4 separate regions of the Homo sapiens genome follow, and all the other regions are linked to region 3. The links are contacts of gene promoters, found by promoter capture Hi-C in human tissues and cell types (Jung and others, 2019). All regions are on one chromosome and are shown on one strand. Each heading gives the region's core, a stretch centred on a gene start or on the middle of the fragment in contact. The rest is flanking DNA. Distances are from core to core; before and after follow the strand shown.

The links. The method cuts DNA at HindIII sites, captures the fragments that hold promoters and counts their contacts. A contact is called where the count stands out against the background at its distance.
Region 1: a fragment that was not itself captured here is called in contact with the fragment with the promoter of SLIT3 in region 3 in 2 of the 25 tissues and cell types used here (bladder and mesenchymal stem cells).
Region 2: a fragment that was not itself captured here is called in contact with the fragment with the promoter of SLIT3 in region 3 in 4 of the 25 tissues and cell types used here (bladder, heart right ventricle, liver and 1 more).
Region 4: a fragment that was not itself captured here is called in contact with the fragment with the promoter of SLIT3 in region 3 in 2 of the 25 tissues and cell types used here (mesenchymal stem cells and small bowel).

Annotation. Positions count from the first base shown.
Region 1 is chr5:169,502,510-169,505,602 of GRCh38, reverse strand. The region is part of intron 2 of LOC105377714 (a long non-coding RNA gene); the gene reads left to right. All of the region lies in intron 3 of LOC105377715 (a long non-coding RNA gene), which reads right to left. Among named protein-coding and RNA genes, the nearest start is that of SPDL1, 80 kb to the left of the region's middle. The HindIII fragment of the contact is 4,832 bases long and covers 1-3,093 here.
Region 2 is chr5:169,076,979-169,079,887 of GRCh38, reverse strand. All of the region lies in intron 4 of SLIT3 (slit guidance ligand 3), which reads left to right. It overlaps LOC105377712 (a long non-coding RNA gene), which reads right to left and starts at 4. Exons shown (of 4, transcript XR_941191.3): 1 at 1-4. The HindIII fragment of the contact is 5,501 bases long and covers 1-2,909 here.
Region 3 is chr5:169,299,667-169,302,893 of GRCh38, reverse strand. SLIT3 (slit guidance ligand 3) reads left to right here and starts at 1,755. Exons shown (of 36, transcript NM_003062.4): 1 at 1,755-2,381. The coding sequence starts at 2,185. The HindIII fragment of the contact is 12,348 bases long and covers 1-3,227 here.
Region 4 is chr5:169,438,122-169,441,448 of GRCh38, reverse strand. No RefSeq gene overlaps it. Among named protein-coding and RNA genes, the nearest start is that of SLIT3, 140 kb to the right of the region's middle. The HindIII fragment of the contact is 3,494 bases long and covers 148-3,327 here.

The DNA of each region.
Region 1 (3,093 bases), core at 70-2,569, 200 kb before region 3:
GATGGGGGGAACAGACAAGCACTGAATACTTAGAGGCAGGCTAGAGATAAGAGGGCAGCAGTGTTGGAAAAGGCTGACCTGGGGGAGGGTGTGCAGGATGTACTAGAAGGGATGAACCCAAAGGTAGCCTGAGGCTTGTGCAGAAGCCCACCTAAAGGTATAAGGCACAGGATAATGATGGTGGGAAGCCAGTCACAGCACTGACCACTGAAAATTAGTGCAGGATGTTCAGTGCAACATATGTCACAATCATATCTACCTCTCTGCTTTTGATGCTGTTTCCCCAGTAACCTCCTCCTCTATCTGCTCATCTATATTCTACTTGTCCAACACTGCCCAGGACAAGTCATGCCTCCATGAAGTCCTGCCTGCTCCTTCAGTTCACAGTGATCTCTCACTCTTTGAACTTCTAGACAACCTGTTTAATGATTTGTTCTAAGTTTAACCTAAGTTAGCACTGTCTTACAAAATATTGTATTATAAGTCTAGAAAAGTGCTAGGATCTGACTTGGTACCTCCGTGCTGACTGATTTTTAATTCTTAAGCAGTTGGTGAGCTGCTCTTCTTCACCATCATCCCTAAAATATTCTTTTCATTTATCTTTTCATCTTCTGATTAACCAAAGACTTGTGTTTGGCACATAAGAGAGAGAATTTAAATTCATTAAGAACTTATCATATATTGAAACGCTGTTCTAAGTGTTTTGCATCTATAACTCTCTAACTCTCACAGCAATCCTAAGAGGTAAGTCTTGTCATTATCCCCATTTTGCAGATAGGAAAAGTGAGGTCCAAGAGGTTAAACAACTCTCTGAAATTTGCACAGCTAGTGAATAATAGAGTCAGAGTTTCAAATTAGGTGACCTGATTGCGGAACACCCATTTGACTTCCACCTTATTCAATAAAGGTCTCAAAAAAAGTACTTGACGTATGTATGGATGCATGAGGAATGAATTCAGCAAATGACACGTCCAAGTCTTGCTGCACAGTGAGAGATGAGGTCCTCGAATACTCTATGAATGTTTGCAAGGGAAGAAACTGCTACTGGTTTTGGGTATTCCCATAGTGAATCTAATGTGGTATATATGATCTGCTGCTGACCTCTTAGGCCCTGTCAAGTTCCTAAAGATTAAGAGATTGTAAAACCTGCTTTCAGGAAGGGTATTGAGACTTTGGGAATTCTACAAAGTGTGATTGACTTAGAGGTGTGTTTACATATAAGGTGCTAATTCACAAACTCTTTAAAGTATTGGTCATCTTCAGCTGTAGCTTCAAATCCTCATAAACCTTTCCAGATACTAGATAGGGCTATAGGGTTTGGGATTCCTCTGGGGGTCAGTTAATTTAAAAAGACTGAGGCAAATGCCAGCCCGGGTGTTTATCACCAACGCTCATCATTGTTTCCCACTTTCCTCTTTCTTATCAGAAGTCAAAAGCAACATGTAAGATATGTGGCTATCAGAGGGTTATCGCTTGTTGCCAAGTGAAAAAGCACAGCTGAGTTCGGTTTAGCTTGATGGCCCCTCTGTTGAAATTCAGGATCTCTTATCTTTGCTTCCACTTCTCCTGTCTAGACACTTGACAATGATTTGCAGGAAATTGAGGCACTTACCCCTGCTGAGAAGCCAGAGCTAAAACATTTCTAAATATAATTTTACTGTGTATGTGTGCGTGTGTTTAATGTGAGTTAATGTTAATTCAAAAGGAAAACATGTTTTTTTTTTTCTCTCTGGGAATGGGATTAGCTGACCCCCACTCAGGCAGAGCTATGTGATTTTTCAGTCTAGACTTCCTAGGCTAGTAAGCTTGTCTAGTTATTTAGGACACAAAACACCAGGCTCTCTTCTCTGACAAAAAATATTGTAGGATCTAACATTCTTGTATTCAAACACCTTTTCTTTTATTTGCTTTCTTTTTATTTTCCTTCTCTCATATAGATGGAGAAATAATTTTAGTCTCTCAACACTTGATATCAGAATCTCTTATTTGAAACATTGGCTTTTGTTGAGAAAATGCTCTGATAAATTCACTTTAAGATCTCAGGGCCTTGGTATTATCATCTGGTATCCAAGTTCTAAAAGAGTAAAAGAGAGGCTTTGCTACTAAACAGAGGAGAGGAGGACTGGGGATTTAACTTTCCTGGGGGCAGCCAGAAGGGATGCCTTCAGGGTGAAGCCTGCTGGGGAAAGAGAAGAGTAATGACTTTCAAAGTTGCCAAATTTAAGAAAAAAAATGGAGAGAGAAGAAAAAGGCTTTAAGATTTTCTCTGCAAGATGACTAGTGTAAAGTACTTCCAGTTCATTCCCCATCTCTCCTGTGAAACCTTCCAATTCAGGGGCTGGGGGGAGAGAAAGGGGAGCTAAGTCATATGTTCATGTTGATGACCAAAAATGCTTCCCTAGTTTCAAGAGCCAGAGTGTGGAGTGGGGGAAGCAGCTGCTTGGACCATGTTTTAGGGCTATTTAAAGGATTGATTTTTGCACAACATACCCAAATGGCCTCAGGTTGATCTGATTCAGTTAAGATATTTGGGGCCTCAATGACATTAGCTTTCATTCCAAAACACACTCAGGAAGGAGGAATTAAGGGCAAGCCAGCCATTTGTAAAATATAAATGAAACATTCCACATATAGTTTTATCTTGTGCAAATTGGTAAGTATATTAGTTTGTTAGGGCTACCACAACAAATACCACAAACTGGCTTAAACAACAGAAGTTTACTTCCTTACACCCCTGGAGGCTAGACATACAAAATCAAAGTGTTGGCAGGGTTGACTTTATTCTGAGGCCTCTTTCCTTGGCTGCCATCTCCCTTTTCTTGATGTGGTCTTCCCCTGGTCTGTTTTCTATGTGTCCTAATCACCTCTTCTTATAAGGACACTAAGTTCTATAGGAATAGGGCCCACCCACGTGACCTCATTTTACCTTAATTGCTCCTTTAAAGGGTCTATCTCCAAATACAGTCACATTCAGAGGTACTGAGGGTGACAATGAACATATGAATTTTGGCGGGGGACATAATTCAGCCCATATCAGTAAGGCATCTGCAGTTTGGGCAAATTTCTACACACATATACACACATTTAAATGCA
Region 2 (2,909 bases), core at 231-2,730, 220 kb after region 3:
CTCTTCCTCCTCCTCCACCTTTCCTCCTCCCTCCCTCCTCCTCCTCCCTCCCTCCTCCTCCTCCCTCCTCCTCTTCCCCTTCCCTCTTCCTCCCTCCTCCTCCTCTTCCCCTTCCCTCTTCTTCCCTCTTCCTCCTCTTCTCTCCTCCTCTTCCCTCCTCCTCCTCCTCTTCCCTCCTCCTCCTCTTCCCTCCTCCTCCTCTTCCCTCCTCCTCCTCTTCCCTCCTCCTCCTCTTCCCTCCTCCTCCTCTTCCCTCCTCCTCTTCTCTCCTCCTTCCTCCTCCTCCTCCCTCCTCCTCCTCCCCTTCTCTCCTCCTCCTTCCTCCTCCTCCTTCTTCCTCCTTCTTCCTCCTCCTCCTTCCTCCTCCCTCTCCTCCTTCCTCCTCCTCCCTCCCCCCCTCCTCCCCCACCCTTTCTCCATCTTCCACCTCAAAGTTTGGGATCCCATCCCTGACCCTGGTCTCTTAGCCTGGACAGTGGGAGTTTTCGTTTCAGCTGATGAACTTGACATTTTCTCTGCCTGGAGACCAAGGATGAGAAGGAGAACTTCTTTGTTTAGCTAGAACTATAAGATCTGAAAACAAAAGAGAGCTGAAAGCAGGCAGGTGTGGAACAACAGCCTCATCCCTTTGATTCTGTGGGTTACACACCACCTGGACAAACCCTGGCCTGAAAACTTGGGGCTCCTTAAAGCATTTTTTCTCCCAGATAGAAAAGGAAAGAATTCATCAGTGATTCATTGCCTTGAGATACGGCAGGATGAGTAGCCAAGGATCTGCTTTTCTGTCTCTGTCACTGTCTCTGTCTCGCCTTCTCTTCTTTCTTGTTTAGGGAGCTAAAGGCAGAGACTGAATTTTAGGAAGCAATTTTTTTTTCCAATCTCCTCCAGAATTCTGTGCCATGAGAAAGCTTAAAATCCAGTGTGATAAAGGATTTTGAGTTTGAACTATGGCATTTAAAAAACTAATTAATTCCTCCAAGTCTTAGTTTATTTCTTTTTGAAAACAAATAATAGGAATATTTCCTAGACTACAGCTCCTTGAGGACAGGAATTGGGTTTGTTTTCCTTATTTCACTTGGCGTGTCTGGTATGATATCTGCCACACCATCAGTGTTCAATAAATATTGGAATGAATACATATCACCTACCACACTGAGTAGCTGAAATTATGTATTGAGATATTGTGTGCAAAAGCTCCTAGCACAGTTATTTTCATTAGTGCTCATTTTTTCTGATTTTAGACATATTTCTTAGAAGGATGAAGATGAAGGGTAAAGAAAGGAAGGTGATAGGAGGGAGAAGCTGGAGAGTAACAAGGAAAACAAGGAAATGAGTGAAGTTGGTGAAGTAGGAAGGGTGCTGGGTTTGCGGGAGACTGGCCTTTTATTCCCCACCGGGTCTGTGATTTCTGCTTGGTCATTTGACTACTCTGAACCTCAGGTTCCTCTTCAGTAAGATGGGAATACAAATCTTCACTTTATCGGTGGTGGGTATCCAAGGAGAAATATATTTGTGAAGGCAGCCCCCAGAGTTCCTGACATGCCTTAGGTACAAAACGACATGAAACCTGAAGGTGGAGAGGAAACCAGAAACAGAGCGTAGAAAGGAGAATAGGAAGCCAGGGAATCTTTTGGCTGGTTTGCGTTGGACTTGGGCCTGGGGAGACATTGCATTTGGACATAAGCCCCTTATCGATGAACCCTGTATTTGTAACCTGATGTGTTGAAATTGAAGCAGTGGGTGGTTGAGGTCAGGAGTGGGTAGGCACAGCATGTGATCCCTGTGGGTGAAGCAAAATGAACACAAGGCCCCAGATCATGCCCCTAGAAAGTAAAGCAAGGTTTCCTAGGATTCTCCAATGCACAGACTCAAGCTGAATCTTGATCCTGTATGGGTTGGAGATTGTGGTTGTCAATGAACTTGGCAAGGCAGGCAACAAACTGGCTGTGTGTAGAGACACAGCCTTAAAAAAGGAAACTTAAAAAGTGTTGCTATTTTTTAAAATAATATTTTTTTACAATGACACTTTTTTTTTTTTTTTTTAGTAATTGAAGAAGTTGTGGACATTTATTCTGGAAATTTTGGAAAATGTAGAAAACACATATAAGCCCATCAAGTGATAACCCATCTCTCCGTGACATTTTGATATACATTGACCCTTGAACAACACAGGGGTTTGGGGTGGTGACCCCCCACACAGTCAAAAATCTCTGTTTAACTTTTGACTCCCCGAAAACTTAGCTACTAATAGCCTAATGTTGATCAGAAGCCTTACTGATAACATAAACAGTTAATGAACAGATATTTTATATGTATTACTGTTTTTTGTTTTTTGTTTTTTGTTTTTTTGAGACGGGGTCTCACTCTGTCACCCAGGCTGGAGTGCAGTGGTGTGATCTCGGCTCACTGCAACCTCCGCCCTCTGAGTTCAAGTGATTCTCCTGCCTCAGCTTCCCAAGTAGCTGGGATTACAGGCACCAGCCACTGCACCAGGCTAATTTTTTGTATTTTTTCAGTAGAGACGGGTTTTCACCATCTTGGCCAGGCTGGTCTTGAACTCCTGACCTTGTGATCCGCCCGCCTCAGCCTCCCAAAGTGCTGGGATTACAGGTGTGAGCCACCGCGCCCGGCCTACATACTGTATTCTTACAATAAACTAGAGAAAAGAAAATTATTAGGAAAAACACAAGGAAGAGAAAATATACTTACAATTCATTAAATGGAAATGGATCACCATAAAGGTCTTCATCCTTGTCCTCCTCACATGGAGTAGGCTAGAGAGGAGGAAGAAGAGGAGAGTTTGTTCTTGCTGTCTCAGGGGGACAGAAGCAGAAGAAAATCCACATACAAGTGATCCCAGGTAGTTCAAACCTGTGTTGTTCAAGGGTCAACTGTTTATCCCTCTAGGG
Region 3 (3,227 bases), core at 506-3,005:
TTTTCTGCTCCAGACAGTCTGAGACGCTTTGTGCCCTTGGGCCCTTGCCCGGTTCTCTCATCTGCCTCAGTCCTGGTACTAAATTGGTTCAAGGTTTGGAGGAAAGCTTCAGAGCAAAGGGATAAAAGGATGTTTAGAGTTCTTAAATACCGAAGTCACCCTGAAGACCGGAGCATAGACCCTCGCCAGCCACCAGGGGGCGATAACAACAGCATCTGTACAGAAAGCCGTTCCCAAGAATAACAGCAGTAAATTGCACCTAATGTGTTTATGAATGATGAAGGGACTCGAGTGTGTGTGTTTGAGTGAGTGTGCGTATGTGTGTGTTTGTGTGTACGCGCGCGCAAGTGGGTGCCCAAAGCTAAGACTTTGAAAATCTGCTAAGTATAATACAATAAAATCTACAACTCTACTATATATTCACAGGATGTGGTCAAGTAGTTGAAAGTTTCCTTGAAGGAAAATGAGGTAGAAGAAATCAGAATAGTATTCTTATGAAAGAAAAGAGAAGCGCTCTCAGGAGTATAGTTGTCACTATGTGAGTGTGTGTGCGAGCATGCATGTACACGTGTGTGTGATTGCCGGTGTATAAATGGGTGTGTGTGAGCCTGAGTATGTGAGAGTGTGTGCGTGGCTGTGAATACGTAGGCACCAGTGTGTGTGTATATATATGCAGGGCTCATTCAGGCCTTCTCAGTGTGAGGGGACCTCAAGGAAATCTGGGCAATACTTCCTCCAGTTCCTGCCCTTTCCTTTCAAACAAACAAACAAAATCATTCCTACAAGTATTTATGGAGCCTCTAACGCACACGCCCCTCCCCACTGGCATCTGGAAAAGCTCAGACCTAGCCAATTTAAAGCGGGCGCTGGAAGAAAGAAGGCGCTGGGGACAGAAGGGATGCCTCGTCTGCGAATGACTTTTGCAAAAACACGTTCTCTTCTGTGATGCTCCAAACAACCCAGGGAGGTGAGGCCAGGTAGGACTGTGGCCCCGGATTTGAGAAAACGAAGGCTCAGAGATGACACGATTGGCCCAGAGTCACCCAGTCAGGAAGCAGAAACCCGAGGATGGAACAAGGCATTGTCAATCCAGGGGTCCAAGTCGCTGCCATCACTACTTTTACCAGTCCACCAAGCGCTGGGTCTGGGCAAAGCAGGGCAAGTTTCCGGGTAAGGTTTGCCAGCAGTGACCTCAACAACATGGACCACGGTGTGTGTGTGTGTGTAGCTGTGGAGTACATTGGTGTCAACCAAGGCTCTTCAGGCAAAATTGTGGATCTCTGCCATGAGTACTAGGTGCGGTAGGGAAGCGGCTTCGTGGGCGACACTGCCATGGTTTGGCGTCCCTAGCAGCTGTGCGACCTCCAGCAAGTCGCTTCACTTCTCTGAGCTGTTTTCAGACGACCCCTTGGAAGATCGTGGACTTAAGTAAAGAATATGAGTAGAGTGCTCAGCTCAGTGCAAAAATTAAAAAAAAAAAAGTGTCAGGAGCCTTATCCGTCCTTGGATCTTAACAGTGAATGAGTTTCAGTGTTTCTTTCCAGGGGCCCTGCTGGCCGAGCCCCTTTCCTTCCCTGGTTCCTTCTCTCTCCCTCCTCTACTGCCTCCTCCCTCCAGGCTCTCGGTCGCTCCAGCAAAGTTCCCAACTTAGTCGACATGACGCGCGGCGCAGCCAATGGGAGGCGGAGTTGGCGTTTCTTGGTCGGGGGGGGGCCGGAGGGGTGGGCCCCGCGTCTCCGGTGTCTGCCGTGCTCACTGAATGGAGAGAGCGAGCGCCGGCCAGCTCACCCGGCCGCCCCGTGCCCCAGCCGCAGCCGCCGCGCTCCCCAGCCCAGCCCCAAGCCGGACCTCCCCGGGCGCCACGCCCCATTGCGCTCGCCCCAGGTCCCCAACCCGGCCCGCGGGCCAGCGGGGCCAGGGGGCGCTCCGCACCTGGGCACTCCCAGCGATGCGCAGCGGGGCAGCGCCGGCCCCGCCGATGGAGCTGCTGTTGCTGCCGCCGCCGCCGCCCGGAGCGCCCCGCTCCGCCCGCGCCCCGTGCGCCTGAGCACCGAGCTCGCCCCTCCTCCGCGCTAACTCCGCCGCCCGCTCCCCAGGCCGCCCGCGCTCCCCGCGCGCCTCCTCGGGCTCCACGCGTCTTGCCCCGCAGAGGCAGCCTCCTCCAGGAGCGGGGCCCTGCACACCATGGCCCCCGGGTGGGCAGGGGTCGGCGCCGCCGTGCGCGCCCGCCTGGCGCTGGCCTTGGCGCTGGCGAGCGTCCTGAGTGGGCCTCCAGCCGTCGCCTGCCCCACCAAGTGTACCTGCTCCGCTGCCAGCGTGGACTGCCACGGGCTGGGCCTCCGCGCGGTTCCTCGGGGCATCCCCCGCAACGCTGAGCGCCTGTGAGTACCCCTGCCCCACCCCACGCGGGCCACCCACCTGGGTCCCACCGAGGGGGCCCCAGGCGCCAGATCCGTCCTTTCCCCTCGGCCTCCCTGGATGCAGTCTCTATTCTCATCCCTTCCTGGATACGATCCCTCACTCTCCGAGCTGGGGGTCTGTAGGCTTGGTCAGATCTGGAAAGAGAGGTCTCGAAACCCCCAGCGATGGGCAAAGAGCAGTGCCTCTCCAGGGGTGAGGGTTCCAGACGCAGGGCCCGCTGACAGCTTCCAAGGAGTAGCTGAGGAGAGGCGAGGGGAGGCAAGAGCACTGCAGCCTCAAGGTCTTAGGGTGAGGGTCAGGGGTCTGCGCTCGTTAAAAAGGGGGGCGGGCGAAGGAGAAAGCTATAGGATGATGGGCCGTCAAGGCGCGGAGGCGGGAGAGAGGGCCCGAGACTGTTGACCTGCTTGGAGATCAGAATGGGCCAGCCGCTCTCTGGCTGCCCTTGCAAGGAAAGTTGAGAGTGTGGGTGAAGGTTTAACTTCTGAGGAACTGGACAGATTCAGAGTGGGTGCTCGCAAAACCCGCTCTGCCTGGAGCGCAGTCTGGGAGATGCCAAGTTGCAGCCCCGGGTGAATTTTTTATGGCTCGGTTATAAATGCCTCCCCGAACGAAGGGGCCGGAGAATGGAAATGCTGACAGCCCTTCAAATGAGACCGAGCGTTATAATCTTACAAACCGCACTCAGCCTCAGATCCTGGGCTTGGCAGCGAATGGAGAGGCGCTTGGAGAATGGGGTGGATTGACCCTAGTTTTAGCCCCAATTGTGCAACCAAATATTTACTTTTCATATGTCAACGTTTTGGAAA
Region 4 (3,327 bases), core at 645-3,144, 140 kb before region 3:
CATTTCAACCAGAGGAGCTCGGCTTCCATCAAGGTTCCCAGATGTCATTTGGGTTTTCCTTGCCTCCTGAGATCTTGTTTAAATTGCTTAAAATCCACCAATTCCAAAGTTCAAAATTCTGTGCAAGACTCTCAGAGTTCCCGGAATTGGAGCACATTTTTCATGGCCCCTCCTATCTCTCAGGCCACTGGATCACCCTGTGACATTGCACTGGGCCCAGACATGGGTCCTTTCTTTGGATTCCATAAAAATGAACTCGATTACCCAAAATATGTGTAGATTTTACAAAAGGCATTTTTTGATAGGGGTGAGAGGGAAGAAGTAAAAACAGTTTTACTTTACAGCAAAGCAAATTAACTTCAATAGCTGACATTTGTGGTTTTAAGATGCCATTTCCCCTACTCCTTGACTCCTCCATATTTGCTAGTTGTGGGATTTGGGCAAGTTACTTAGCCTTTCTGTGCCTCAGTTTCTCATATTTAAAATGAGGACCATAGTATTATAGTATCTACTTAGATTCATATGAAGATTGAATGAGTTAATGTAAGTAAAACAATTAGAACAGAGCCAGATATTATAGCTTATATATGCAAATAGATAGATACATGATGGATGATAGATATATAGATGATAGATAGATAGATAGATAGATAGATAGATAGATAGATAGATAGATAGATAGATCTCATATACGTGTACATGTTAGGCTATTACTACTATTATTTTAATTTCTGGTTCTTCTCAGTCCTGTCTCCATTCTTTCCCCCTCACTCACCAGTCCTCCTCCCATTCAGGAACAAAAACAAAAATTTGCCCATGTCCCTCCTCTGTTCTCATCCAGAATAGTTTGTCTTCTTTCTCCTCTGAAGTCTTGGCTCCCACTGATGTCATATCCCAGGCATGTTTACCAAGGTATTTTTTAAACAATGATAGCTTCCTCTCTTAGAGGGATTAAGATGTCAAATGTCAAGATAATATTTTTCAACTTGTTATATTTACACACACACACAAAGGGTTCCATATCCTTAAAAAAATATTAAAAACACCGGCCAGGTCTTCAGGGTGTTTACTCTCTCTAACTATCCTGTGATTCTGGGGAAATAAAGCTTCCTGGTGGTATGAGATGCCTCAATACATGTCTTATGTTAATGAACTCAGGAGCAGCATAGGTTGAGTGCCCAGTCTGACTGAGCTTCCTCCGGCTTGCTCGCAGGAGCTTCAAAATACTGTTGGCCCCTTTTTAAAGAGTCAAGGAGGCTGCAGTAATGGAAGGCCAAAACCTAGAAAAATATTCAGATAACATGCTTTTCCCCTCAAAACAATATTTGGTCTCCTAACTGTCAGAGTATTTCTAGTCTTTTTAATCCACCCCACTTCCAAAAAAAGTCAGTCACACAGATGACACAGATGGGCAGAGACTTCTCTCAGTAAAAATAGAATATTATTATAGAGTTTCTCAATCTTGCTTTATGTATTGATGTTGGCTTGTAGCTAGAATAAGCAAATACCGAATCCCCAAAGATCCATTCTTTTCTCATGCTCCAATAAAGCTGATAATCTCATATATATATATATATATATATATATATATGCTTTATAATTTTATGAGGCATATTTATATCTACTAGTATACTGGTAGAAAACAACATTAAAAAGAGAAACCTCCAAACCCTATCTCAGTTTCAAATCTGCCCTGTAAGTTCTTTCCTCCTTATTGCCATAGCCCAAATAAGAGGATGGGCATCTGATTTCTTCAGCCATTCAGTTGCTGTCCTTGGCATTTGTCAGAGGGAGAAGTTGACTTTGGAAGCGTAATAATAGAAACATAGTCTATTGTAAGTTTGGGAAGTAAACATTGACAAGATTAGAGGAACAGAAAAGGCGTGTTCTGCAATCCATCTCACACAGGTGTGTCATGGCCAGAGCATAGGAAACTTGGCTTTGAGTCTCAGCCTGATGCTAACCAGCTTTATGCTCTTGGGCAAACCACATTAATCTGTCTGAGCCTAGATTCTTCACCTGCAACACGGGAGGGACAGCACTGGCCTCTTGGTGCTGTGAAAGCTTAATAACGCTTGTAGCAGTGTTTGGTGCTCCTGTGTGAAACGTGTTCGTCTCTCAGAGTTTTCAACACCATCCTCTCTTGCATTTTGTTCCCACCTTTCTGGCTCCTCCTCTTCAGTCTCCTTTGCTGCCTCCCCAGCCAGCTTGAGTTGAAGCTCCTTAAGGCTCAGATCTAGAAACAATGGTCTTCACCCTTGATATTCTTTTCATGGGCAATTCTGCCCATACTATACCCATTCTTACTCCACTGGAAGGAGTGGGGAGATGGTTTTCCCATTACTTCATCGAATGGCACCAAGGGAAAGAAAATATATAGCAATATTTTGGCATATGGTTTGCATGTTTGGGATTTTTGTTCAGAAGACTTCATTCTACGTAGGTCAGAGCCTACCAGAGGAGCAGTGAGGGTTGACTGGATGGGAACATGCCCAGCTGACAAAACCTGTATTCATGACAGCAACATCCCAAGAACATGGAATTCTCATGAGACACTGCTATTGACTCCCAGGAATAATCAAGAGAGACTCTGAAGCTCTGTTTCTTTGCAAGGGGTGGTGGGGACACTGAGTTGCAGATGTGGCTGCGAATGTTAACATGGCCACATCTGTACTCCCAGGCTGGTGAGCTTAAGAACACTAGAGTGGTAGAGCGCTTAGCCTATTTAGGTTCTTAATGCATTTTAAATCTCTTCATCTCTCCTCCACTTATTGGAATCAGAGGCTATAAGTTCCATTTAGAGCTAATCATCTTGCTCTAATGATTGTTACTGAAGACTTCATAGAATTTTGTAGTTGAAAGAGACATTAAAAGGTCAGGTGACCCAACTCTTCCAGAGAGACTGAAGAAACTTACAGCTTCAATCACCATAGAATAAACCATTCAAGGGTAAAAGAAAACTGGGACTGTCTGAAGGATGCAAAAGAAGCTGATGGCTTTAGGCACCTGATTGGGGCTAATTATAACACTTGGGTAATACATCTTGGCACAAGCTTTCTGGCAGCAAAGAAGAAGTGGAAACATGTTGGGTTACTTAGTTTTGGTTGTATGACAATGGACAACATAAAAATTTTTCTGTAGAGACAAACTCTTTCCTGGAACCAGACTTAGGCATTTATCATATGAGTCATTGTATAAAGGACACTGAGAGACAGAATGGACAGTATCTTCTTCCATGGCTTCCTACAGAATTGTGCAGTTTTCTTCTGGAGGTTCTCATCTTGGCCACTCATGAAAGTATACATTTCCTAGTAACCAGGAACTCTC